2 separate regions of the Homo sapiens genome follow, and region 1 is linked to region 2. The links are contacts of gene promoters, found by promoter capture Hi-C in human tissues and cell types (Jung and others, 2019). All regions are on one chromosome and are shown on one strand. Each heading gives the region's core, a stretch centred on a gene start or on the middle of the fragment in contact. The rest is flanking DNA. Distances are from core to core; before and after follow the strand shown. Region 1 overlaps GTF2F2 (general transcription factor IIF subunit 2). Region 2 holds the start of KCTD4 (potassium channel tetramerization domain containing 4).

What was found. The method cuts DNA at HindIII sites, captures the fragments that hold promoters and counts their contacts. A contact is called where the count stands out against the background at its distance.
Region 1: a contact is called between a fragment that was not itself captured here and the fragment with the promoter of KCTD4 in region 2, in 6 of the 25 tissues and cell types used here (H1 embryonic stem cells, IMR-90 fibroblasts, dorsolateral prefrontal cortex and 3 more).

The regions. Positions count from the first base shown.
Region 1 is chr13:45,122,116-45,128,650 of GRCh38, reverse strand. All of the region lies in intron 1 of GTF2F2 (general transcription factor IIF subunit 2), which reads right to left. It also overlaps the pseudogene RN7SKP4. Among named protein-coding and RNA genes, the nearest start is that of GTF2F2, 4.9 kb to the right of the region's middle. RefSeq lists a silencer at 4,720-4,913. The HindIII fragment of the contact is 3,307 bases long and covers 2,712-6,018 here.
Region 2 is chr13:45,198,078-45,203,909 of GRCh38, reverse strand. KCTD4 (potassium channel tetramerization domain containing 4) reads left to right here and starts at 2,865. Exons shown (of 2, transcript NM_198404.3): 1 at 2,865-3,086. The region is part of intron 4 of GTF2F2 (general transcription factor IIF subunit 2); the gene reads right to left. The HindIII fragment of the contact is 9,631 bases long and covers 1-5,832 here.

The DNA.
Region 1 (6,535 bases), core at 3,116-5,615, 77 kb after region 2:
CACTGCACTCCAGCCTGGGTGACAGAGCGAGACTCTTTCTCAAAAAATAAAATAAAATAAAATAAATTTTATTTTTTTGAGACGGAGTCTCACTGTGTCACCCAGGCTGGAGTGCAATGGCATGATCTTGGCTCACTGCAACCTCCGCCCCCCAGGTGCAAGTGATTCTCTTGCCTCAGCCTCCCGAGTAGTTGGGATTATAGACGCCCGCCACCATGCCCAGCTAATTTTTGTATTTTTAGTAGAGATGGGGTTTCACCATATTGGTCAGGCTGGTCTCGAACTCCTGACCTCGTGATCTGCCCGCCTCGGCCTCCCAAAGTGCTGCAATTACAGGCGTGAGCCACTGTGCCCGGCCGCAAAAATAATTTTTTAAAAAGGCCAGGGGGGAGGCCGGGCACAGTGGCTCACACCTGTAATCCCAGCACTTTGGAAGGCTGAGGCAGGCGGATCACGAGGTCAGGAGATCAAGACCATCCTAGCTAACATGGTGAAACCCCATCTCTACTAAAAATACAAAAAATTAGCCGGGCATGGTGGCGGGCACCTGTAGTCTCAGCTACTCGGGAGGCTGAGGCAGAAGAATGGCGTGAATCCGGGAGGCAGAGCTTGCAGTGAGTCGAGATCGCGCCACTGCACTCCGGCCTGGGTGACAGAGCAAGACCCGTCTCAAAAAAAAAGAAAAAAAAAAAAAAAAAAAAAAAAAAAAAAAGGCCGGGGTGCCAGGCACAGTGGCTCATGCCTGTAATCCTAGCACTTTGGGAGGCTGAGGCGGGCAGATCACAAGGTCAGGAGTTCGAGTCCACCCTGGCCAACATGGCGAAACCCCGTCTCTACCAAAAATACAAAAATTAGCTGGGCGTGGTGGCAGGCGCCTGTAATCCCAGCTACTCGGGAGACTGAGACAGGAGAATCACTTGAACCCAGGAGGCGGAGGTTGTAGTGAGCCAAGATCGTGCTACTGCACGCCCAGCCTGGGCGACAAGAGCAAGATTCCGTCTCCAAAAAAAAACAAGGCCAGGGGTGGTGGCTCATGCCATAATCCCAACACTCTAGCACTTTGGAAGGCCAACGTGGGTAGACTGCTTGAGTCCAGGAATTTGAGATCAGCCTGGGCAACATGGTGAAACCCTGTCTCTACAAAAAAAAAAAAAAAAATTAGTTGGGCGTGGTGACACATGCCTATAGTCCCAGCTACTCAGGAGGCTGAGGCAGGAGGATCACTGCAGCCCAGGAGGCAGAGGTTGCAGTGAGCCGAATTCACAGCACTTCACTCCAGCCTGGGAGACAGAGTGAGACCCTGTCTCAAAAAGAAAGACCAAAAAAAAAAGCAGATTGTGCTCCATAAGTTAATGGACAAAAACAAGTTTGCAGCTCATATTGCACTGTCTTCATTATTATAATAAAACTGTAGATTCCCAGGTAAGCCCACCAGCTTATTTAATTCAAAGGTTCCTAAAATACTACACCCTTGCAATAAAAAATAATAATAATAGCACATTAATTATATATAACTCTCTACACCACGAACTTACAGAAATTGGCTTCCCAGAAGTCCCGGCCTATTAAGTCTCAAAAGAGGGAGGGAGAGGAAGAAAAAAATGACAGTATATATGGTTTCAAGGCTCCAAAACACCACTGTCAACATATCACTTACGATGTATCTGTGTTATTTCCACTATCTCACTCATTACTGAAAATCAGATGGAGACAAGGTAATAAGTACAACAGGGTATGGTTGCTTAGATTTCCCAATACCAGAGAAAGTGACAGAAAATAACTCACTACAGCATTATTTCCTCAAGGAAACCTCCCTTGACTTCCTAGACCAGGACAAGTCCCTTGCTATTCACATGCACAGAAACAATATTCCTTGCTTCAGTGTCCTTCTCTGAAAATAATTGTTTTCGTTAAGACCAATATTTGACTGATGTCTGTCTCCTATACTGGGCTATAAGTCGTAGTTTACACAGTATATATACCATGTCCGTTTTGTTCACTGTAACATACTTAGAGCCTAGCAATCACTGAAAGCTTGTGGGATGAATCAATCTGCCCACCCATTCACTCAAACTGGGCAGCATAAGAAAGTGGTTCTTGTCGCTGGGCACAGTGGCTTACGCCTGTAATCCCAGCAGTTTGGGAGGCCAAGGCAGGGGGATCACGAGGTCAGGAGTTTGAGACCATCCTGGCTAACATGGTGAAACCCCGTCTCTACTAAAAATACAAAAATTAGCCAGGAGTCGTGGTGCACGCCTGTAATCCCAGCTACTCAGGAGGCTGAGGCAGGAGAATCGCTTGAAGCCGGGAGGCGGAGCTTGCAGTGAGCCAAGATCACACCATTGCACTCCAGACTGGGCAACAGAACGAAACTCCATCTCAAAAAAAAAAAAAAAAAAAAAAAAGTCGTTCTTCCCTTTGAAGCCAAGGTGCTTCTTTGCCAACTTTGCTTCATCAAATATCTAGTTCCCCAACTGCTAGCCTCTAAAGCCCTGTTTCTCCCAGAAAATTAAAAGCACTGAAGTGGACATCATGATGTGACACCCAGATTCCCCCTTCAGCACTGAGGGCATTATTCCCACAGCTGCTGAGAGTGTGGCCAGCAGACAGCCCTCAGCTATTAGGCCTCTTTGAAATTGCCTCCACTAAAGAAAGACCCCTTGCTCAAGGTCACGCCCACTTACTGGGGCAAACCATATCCACTGACTGGCTGGGACAGGAGGACAGCTCTGGAGGGCTCCTGTGGAATCATCCTGGCTTTTCACTGAGACTGCCTTACATGCTCTACCCAATCTTGCTTAAATCCTTTTCCTTCCATACATGCTGATCCCAAGAGTACTCACTAATAAATCCCTGTCTCCATCTCAAAATCAGCTGCTCAGGGAACCCAATCTATGACATGCAGCATTTATTCCCATGTTTCCTTGAACTTCAAGATACAGAACTGACAAGACCAAAGACATAAAAATGAAGTCCCCACCTCACCTCTGAATCTCTAGGGAGATAACCCATTAAAGAGACACAAAGGGGGCTGGGCACAGTGGCTCACACCGGTAATCCCAGTACTTTGGAAGGCCGAGACGGGCAGATCACGAACGAGGTCAAGAGATTGAGACCATCCTGGCCAACACAGTGAAACCCCGTCTCTACTAAAAATACAAAAATTAGCTGGGTGTGGTGGCCCGCGCCTGTAGCCCCAGCTACTCGGGAGGCTGAGGCAGGAGAATCGCTTGAACCTGGAAGGTGGAGGTTGCAGTGAGCCAAGATTGCGCCACTGCACTCCAGCCTGGCAAAAGAGCGACACTCCGTCTCAAAAAAACAAAAACAAAAACAAAAACAAAAAAAAACAGAGAGACGCAAAGGGGAAAAAAAATTTCTATGGCAAAGCTTTTAGCCTAACAAATTTGAATCACTATTTCCATGCTTAGGCAAGATAATTAACCTCCCTAACCTTAAATTTTATCATCTGAAAAATACAGGTAATTAATACCTACTTTACCGGTTTGCTTTGCAAAATACTCGCTACACAAGAAATGTTAAGTTCCTTTTTCTCCTACTATCTGCAAGGCTTTAGGGTATCACCCATTCCAGTTTCATCTCTCCCTTGTATATAACTTTCTCTTTGGCCACCAATGTCCAAGCGCTTGCCTGTCTGTGAAAAAATGAAAGCTAGCCGGGAAGGGTGGCTCACATCTATAATCCCAGCACTTTGGGAGGCCAAGGTGGGTGGATCACTTGAAATCAGGAGTTCAAGACCACCTTGGCCAACATGGTGAAACCCTGTCTTGGCTGGGCACAGTGGCTCATGCCTGTAATCCCAGCACTTTGGGAGGCCAAGGCAGGCAGATCACGAGGTCAGCTGTTCAAGACCATCCTGGCCAACATGGTGAAACCCCATCTCTACTAAAGATACAAAAAATTAGGTGGGTGTGGTGGCACACACCTGTAATCCCAGCTATTCGGGAGGCTGAGGCAGGAGAATAGCTTGAACCCAGGAGGCAAAGGTTACAGTGCGCTGAGATTGTGCCATTGCACACCAGCCTGGGTGACCGGGTGAGACTCCATCTCAAAAACAAAAACAAACAAACAAACAAAATAAACCCCATCTCTACTAAAAATACAAAAATTAGCTGGGCATGGTGGTCAGGCTGGTCTCCAACTCCCAACCTCAGGTGATCCACCCGCCTCGGCCTCCCAAAGTGCTGCGATTACAGGCATGAGCCACCATGCCTGGCCGCAAAAATAATTTTTTAAAAAGGCCAGTGGGGAGGCCAGGTGCAGTGGCTCACGCCTGTAATCCCAGCACTTTGGGAGGCAGAGGCGGGTGGATCACAAGGTCAGGAGATCGAGACCATCCTGGCTAACACGGTGAAACCCCGTCTCTACTAAAAATACAAAAAATTAGCCGGGCGTGGTAGCAGGCACCTATAGTCCCAGCTACTCGGGAGGCTGAGGCAGGAGAATCGCTTGAACCCACGAGGTGGAGCTTGCAGTGAGCCGAGATCGCGCCACCTTAGATGCTGGGGCTGGCATTGCCCTCAACGACCACTTTGTCAAGTTCATTTCCTGGTAAGACAATGAATTTGGCTACAGCAACAGGGTGGGGGACCTCATGGCCCACATGGCCTCTAAGGAGTAAGACCCCTGGACCACCAGCCCCAGTGACAGAACAAGAGGAAGAGAGAGACCCTCAATGCTGGGGAGTCCCTGCCATACTCAGTCCCCAACCACACTAAGACTCTCCCCTCCTCACAGCTTCCATGCAGACCCCCTGAAGAGGGAGGGGCCTAGGGAGCCCTGCCTTGTCATGTGCCATCAATAAAGTCCCCTGTGCTCAGCCAAAAAAAAAAAAAAAAAAATTCAAAATTCCAGAAATAGCACTTCATTAGGCCAGAACAGTACAGGTCCTGGATATTTTGTTATTTTGGTAAACAATCTACTACTATATTTGTTTTTCCCTAAACACACTATTTATCCCCAGTCCTGCCCGTAGGTTTTGGTTGTTTTTTTTTTTTTCTTTTTAGATAGGGTTTCACTCTGTAGCCCAGCCTGGAGTACAAGGGGTGTGATCTCAGCTCACTGCAGCCTCAACCTCCTAGGCTCAAGTGATCCTCCCACCTCAGCCTCTCAAGTAGCTGGGACTACAAGCGTACACCACCACGCCCAGCTAACTTTTTATAGTTTTTGTAGATAAAGGGTTTTGCTATATTGCCCAGGCTGGTCTCAAATTCCTGGGCTCAAGCAATTCGCCCACCTCGTCCTCCCAAAGTGCTGGGATTACAGACATCAGCCACTGCACCCGGCCTGCCATAAGCTCTTCTTGAAAGCTTCTTTGGAGGTTCTAGCAGGGGAGTACAACCATACATATACCCTTGACTGAAGACCAGTCCTCCTCTATCCGGATGGTCATCCTCTTTGGTCAAGCGTGCAGCTTCGGGAGGGACATACATGGAGCAGTGTGGGAGGAAGGAGACACCCGCCTAGCCAGCCAGATTAGCCAAATCAACCCTAGTAATCAATGGGGTGACAGATGTCCCAGACAGATCACACTCACATCCATTTTTTTTTTTTGAGACAGGATGTCACTCTGTCGCCCAGGCAGGAGTGCATGCAGTGGCACAATCTTGACTCACTGCAACCTCCAAATAGGCTTTTCTTAAACGTCACCTTCTTTATGATGTCTTCCCAGTTCTGGTGAAGCACTAATTTTTTTCCCGCTCAAAACTCTCAGAGATCTTGTATGTATAGTTCTTACTGTATTTACACAGTTCTATACCTGTCTAGTGATGGAATTAAATATGTACAAGATGATCTATAAACCGTGAGATATCCTAGGAAGAAACATTATTTAGCAACAAAGATCAGAACTCAAGGTATTATTTTTAATAGGAAAATTAATGTAAGGAGAAAAAACTTGAAATCAATATGTACTTCAATTCAAATTCTGATTAGATGAGAATGAAGATACACTTTCTAAGCAACAAATTACACTTTTTTTTAATTTATTTATTTTTTTGAGAAGGAATTTTTGCTCTGTTGCCCAGGCTGGAGTGCAACGGAGCAATCTCGGCTCACTGCAACCTCCGTCTCCCGGTTTCAAGTGATTCTTCTGCCTCAGCCTCCCAAGTAGCTGGGACTACAGGCGCACACCACCATGACTGGCTGATTTTTGTATTTTTAGTAGAGATGGGGTTTCACCATATTGGCCAGGCTGGTCTCGAACTCTTGACCTCATGATCCACCCACCTCGGCCTCCCAAAGTGCTGAGATTACAGGCGTGAGCCACCATGCCCAGCCCGATCCTGTGATAATTTTCTAATTGTGACTCTGGTTACCCTCCCCTCTAATTCGTACTGCACACTGCCAAACATTTTTTTTTTTCCTGAATAAATATCTGGCATCTCTACCTCACTCAAATCCTCCAAAAAGTTCGTTACTTCCTTGTAAACTAAAGTTAGAATATCTCCGTTTCATGATATGACAATCTGAGTATATGGTCCCCATCTTCATCTACACAGATCTTCTGCTCTAGGTT
Region 2 (5,832 bases), core at 1,616-4,115:
ATTTCGAGAGCTGCTGGTCTCGTAGGATAAGACAGGTACATAAATCATCTTAATACACCAGAAGCACTTTTGATACACCTCTACTTAACTCACCTCTAGATTAACAAAGGCTCTCAACTGCCTGCTATTAAATATAGCGACAGATGCCCACAGTCACTATATACTAGTGGGTAATAGGTTAATCTCTAGTACTCCCACACACGTCTGCTCAAACGATGCTAGAACTTGTCTATATTAGTTTTAATAATTATGTAATCTGATTATATATTACAGAAGCCCATTAAATTGCAAGTATGAGGGGAGTTTGGGGGGTGTTTCTATAAAAACTATGTAGAATGCTTTGGTAAGATGATATAAAGTTAAGTTGTAACACAATACTGTCAAATTAGGTACAGGTGAGACAACTGGAGACTGAAAGGGAAGCACAGGAGTCTAGAAAGAGTCTGCATTTAGATAGTTTCACAGTGTCTAAGTTCTTGCTCCTTTTCAAAGAAACCAAAATCGAAAATCTAAACTAAATCATGGGGCCAGGTGCAGTGGCTCACGCCTGTAATCCCAGAACTTTGGGAAGCCGAGGAGGGCAGATCACTTGAGGCCAGGAGTTTGAGACTAGCCCAGGCAACACAAGGAAACCGTCTCTCTACTAAAAATCCAAAAAAAAAAAAAAAAGGTGGGCGTGGTGGTGCATGCCTGTAGTCCTAGCTATTTGGGAGGCTAAGGCATGAGAATTGTTTGAACTCTGTAGGTAGAGGTTGCAATGAGCTGAGATCACATCACTGCACTCCAGCCTGGGCGACAGAATGAGACTGAAAAACTAAATGATGGGTTTAATTTTTGAAAAACAAAGAAAACAGATGGTCAGTCAGTATCCTATATTCAAAGCAAAGGCCTTGTCTTACATATACATCAGCAACTAAATGTACATTTATTTTATTTTATTTTATTTCTGAGATGATGTCTCACTCTGTCACCCAGGCTGGAGTAGCTGGAGTACAGTGGTGCAATCTCAACTCACTGAAACCTCCGCCTCCCAGGTTCAAGCAATTCTCATGCCTCAGCCACCTGAGGTGCTGGGATTACAGGCGTGCGCCACCATGCCCAGCTAATTTTTGTATTTTTAGTACAGCCAGGGTTTCACCATGGTAACCAGGCAGGTCTTGAACCCCTGACCTCACGTGATCTGCCCACCTCGGCCTCCCAAAGTGCTGGGATTACAGGCGTGAGCCACCGTGCCCAGCCAACTAAACGTACATTTATAAGTTTTAAGATAAAATGTTTAAGGCAGATAGGAACTGCATATTGATATCATTTTTATGATTTCCCATCTTTTAATGTAACTGACCAATTACTGGTTATTCCATATGTGCTGTAGGATTCTTCTGTCAAGTTGAATATGTTAAAGGTCATAAAATAGAAACATACAAGAGTACTGGGATTAAACACACATGTACTTGCACACACACACACACCCACTCAGATGTCTAGCTAGAGATCAAGAAGAGTTTTTTGTTTTGTTTTGTTTTGAGATGGAGTCTCGCTCTGTTGCCTAGACTGGAGTGCAGTGGCGCGATCTTGGCTCACCGCAACCTCCGCCTCCTGGGTTCAAGCGATTCTCCTGCCTCTGCCTCCTGGGTAGCTGGGATTACAGGTATGTGCCACTGCGCCAGGCTAATTTTTGTATTTTTAGTGGAGATGGGGTTTTGCCATGTTGGCCAGGCTGGTCTTGAACTCCTGACCTCTGGTGATCCGCCCACCTCAGCCTCCCAAAGTGCTAGGATTACAGGTGTGAGCCACCACGCCAGGCCAAGAAGAGTTTTGAAGAATAAGCAATGATTGTGCTGGACCTTGAAAAATGGGTAGGATTTAGACTGGGGTGGGTGGGGGTAAGAAGGAAGAGTACTGAAGGTGGTAGGAATGGCCTCTGTGTGTCTGTGCTTGCTCGCTCTTGTGCTTGAAATGTTCAACTAAGGGGCTCACACCACCAATTACTAGAAGGACATGGTCTTGCCAGCACTCTGCAGAGAAGCCACACAAACTCATCCTACCAAAGGCTTTGGAATGGCTCAATTCATATCTTTTCCTTGGCCATTTGCTCTTCTTTGGATTCTGGGAAATAGTATGGGATTCTTTCTAAATTCTCCCCCGCACTCCTTTTTTGGCTAGATTGGTTTGTTGACTGGTTTCTGCTACTTGCAACCAAAAGAATCTTATTGAGTATGAACACACATCTTTGATGATGGTAATTTATGTATATCCCACCACCTAAAATCAGAAAAAACTCGAGAGAAAATTTTAAAGGTTATGTATATAAAGCACATCCTATAAAAAGAACTGAAGGCTTCTAGTTAAGATTCTGTCACTAAACAGCAGTGTTACTTTGGAGAAGTTATTTTACATCTCTGGGCCTCAGCATCCATAATAATGATATTACTAGAATGTCTGAGATCTCTTCTAGGTCTCTTTCACTAAATAAAAATGCTAGCCTTCCTCTCCAACTGGGGATGTTTTATTATTTCATTAGTGTTATTTTGTTTGCTCTAGTACTTTCCAAAAGACCTAGATATAATTAAATTTTCTTTGAATAGAAAGAGAATAACAAAATGTTAAGAAGCTGCCCAAGGCTTGAAAATATTTAAATTTGTGCTCTATGCTGGATTATCCTGCCCTATATCTGAACTTGACATACACTCTATGTCAAAGAACTGAGGAGAAATGATACTGGCACTTTTTTTAAAAAGTTAAGGGCATCCCTAGTTTGAAGAAGTTAAAGGAATAAGCAAGCAGCAACACTGCTTATTAGCATTGGCATGTAAGTAATGAAATCAAGTATGTTAGGAAGTCTTAGGCATCAGGAAGTTACACTCATTCATTTCCACAAGACCTTCTGGATCCAGCTGAATGTGGAGGCCTTTAAGAGAACTTCCAGCTCCTGTAAAAACCCAGACCAGAGGACTACTGACCAACATTTCAGGCTGATCCTCCAGACCTCGAAGTTACTCTCCTTACTCTCCTGACTCTTAATTACATCACACCTGTGTCGACACTCTCTGGGAAAAGACTGAAGAAATAATCTTTTCAAGAAGCAGGTACATTTAAAAGGCAAACCATTTTTAATATTCCTAGTAGTCTCCTTTCTTCTCATTTAAAATATGTTCCTAGAAGTTTTTTTGCCTGTGGTTCTGAGTTGAGGTCTACTAATAAAAGGTACTAGCATCTTAACAAACCAGTTAGGCAAACTTTCTATCCCTGTATTATTAAAAAGCTGCTCTTTACTTGTGAAGTAATATTCTGATCTCTATTTGATCTTCAGGAATTTTGCCACGCATGGTGGCTCACATCTGTAATCCCAACACTTTGGGAGGCTGAGGCAGCAGCATAGCTTGAGCCCAGCCTGGGCAACAAAGTGAGACCCAGTCTCCACAAAAAGATAAAAAAGTTAGCCAGGTATGGTGGGGTATGCCTGTGGCCCCAACTATACGGGAGTTTCCTAAGGCAGGAAGATCACCTGAGCCCAGGAGGTTGAGGTTGCAATACACTCCAGCCTGGGTGACAGAGCAAGACCCTGTATCAAAAAATAAAATTTAATTTTATAAAAGTTATAAAATAATTTGCCTAATTTTAACATCAAGCAGCCACATTGTTTTGTCTCTCCCTCTCTCTCTCATCTCCCTGCAAAATTCTTTCCCTCCTCCCTGTCTGTTAATTTTACTTTCTTGTGATACGGAGGGAATAGCTCACAGAGCTGCTCAAATATTTCATCAACTATAAGATGCTATCATTTGTAATAGCAACCATTATTTTACGTGCCACCAAGACAAAATACTGCTGCTAAACTTTGACAAGCTAACGATATTAAGATGTACCTCAGTTATAGAAATGGTAAATATGAAAAAAATGTGTGATATGATAGAGTTCTCCATCCCTAGTTTATAACTCCTCCCTACTCTGTAAGAAACCACATTTGCTCCCTTGAGCCATCACATCCTGTTCTCCTGTTCAGATCCTCTTCTCTCTTCTCCACACCACCTCATCACTGAAGACACAAGCAGATGTTAAGTGATGAGAAAATCAGAAGGAACAGTGGCAGGCGCTAGTATACGGTAACAGAGACCCTCTTTAGTCATTTACTTCCTAACTGTACTACCTTTACAAGAGTTTTCAAAGTTATGCCCTTCATTTTGAGATTGTAGATAATGGTTATTAGCTTAAAATATCTTCTTCCCAAAGAGAAAGTAAAATTGCATTTTGCCAAATAGCACTATAAAAATGAGTTCTGTACAATATTATAATTTTAATGTTCATTTGATGGCTTACATAAGTGCTATGCTCATCTGGTTACAATAGAATTTTCCAGTAAATAATAACGCACAGGTTATATTTCAAAAAAAAACTTCATTTTTAAAAAACTTAAGGTATGACTTCTGCTTACAAAATTATAAAACACAGGTTTCCCTGAAATACTCATTTTCCAAAGTACATGTAAAACATGAATTAATATGACTTATAAATTGTCAAGATTGCCTCTGTAGTGAAAATCAAAGAAATGTGGAATGGAATTTCACCTGAACTTCTGAGCTAGTCTGTTGTCTTTATTTGTGCTCCTTTTGACACATAGTGCCTTATGTTTTTCTATACTCCTCAAATGAAGCTAAAACATTTACCAATGTAGGCAATTTTCCTGGGCTTCCTTGAAGACGCAGTTCAACACTGCAAAATATTTACAGCTGTATTCTTTGGACTGCAATGACATGTTCACACGACCTTGTGGCCAGAGGTTACGTCCTATTAGTCCTAGGAAGGTTCAAGTACTTGGCACAGTTTGTGAGATGCTGTGGTCAATCAGTTACATAAAGTGGCTGCCATAGTACTTTTGTTAGTGTAATACCAGTAGCAGACAACATTTAGAGCAGATAAATTTTATATTTCAAAATAGAACTAAAATTTGGACACTCAAAAAGAATTACATTAACATGGGAAAATCCTTGATTCTTAAAACATGTCAATAATTAGACAGTGTAATTTTTATTTTTAACACACAAAAGAAGCCAACACAAAATATTCATACCTCAATATCAAAATGAATGTTTCTTACATTCAGTGCTATTGACAAGAGGCAATGAAGCAAGTACATGTTAAAAAAAAAGAAACTCAGCTTGTGAAAGGCAGAGGAAGGTCAAAACACAGATCAATAAACAAAAAAACAAAAAAAAAATGTGGGCAAGTCCAAGGCAGAGATATACTGTCAGATTTAAGTAAAAAGTTGACAGCAGCTTCTCTAGCTTTTACTTTCTTTCTAAGGTAATGGGAATGAAATCCTTTTAAAAGACAAGCAGAGAAGCATGCAGCTGACAACAACCAAGATTTGATAGCAGGGGAGAATGTGGAGACAGAAGCTCCCTGTTCTTATCAAACGCAGCTTCTAAAACCATTCCTTTTCCTTGAAGAGTGTCTGAATTTTATAGAGGAATGATCTGTTAAGTCTAGGAGAATTATCATACTTTTTGTATCTTCCAGTCGGGAGGGATAACCTCCTGGTAAGGTTTCACTTCCTTCCATGGCATGGGAGTATCTCTGGCATATAAATGGAGCAAGTGTATATATTACAATGATGTCCTGCATCAATCACGGGATGACAAAGACCTCATTTCCCATAAGGAGTTGGTAAAAAGATGGGAATTCCTGCTGGAATGAGTTCTGCCTTATGCAGATGGTAGGACATTAGTATTACCTCATAGTGGAAGGTTCTGCCAGAGTTTAGTTAGGCATTGGACCCAATTAACTATAGGATATACTCATACTAAGGACCAGTTTAAATTCTCAAAGTTGGTTATA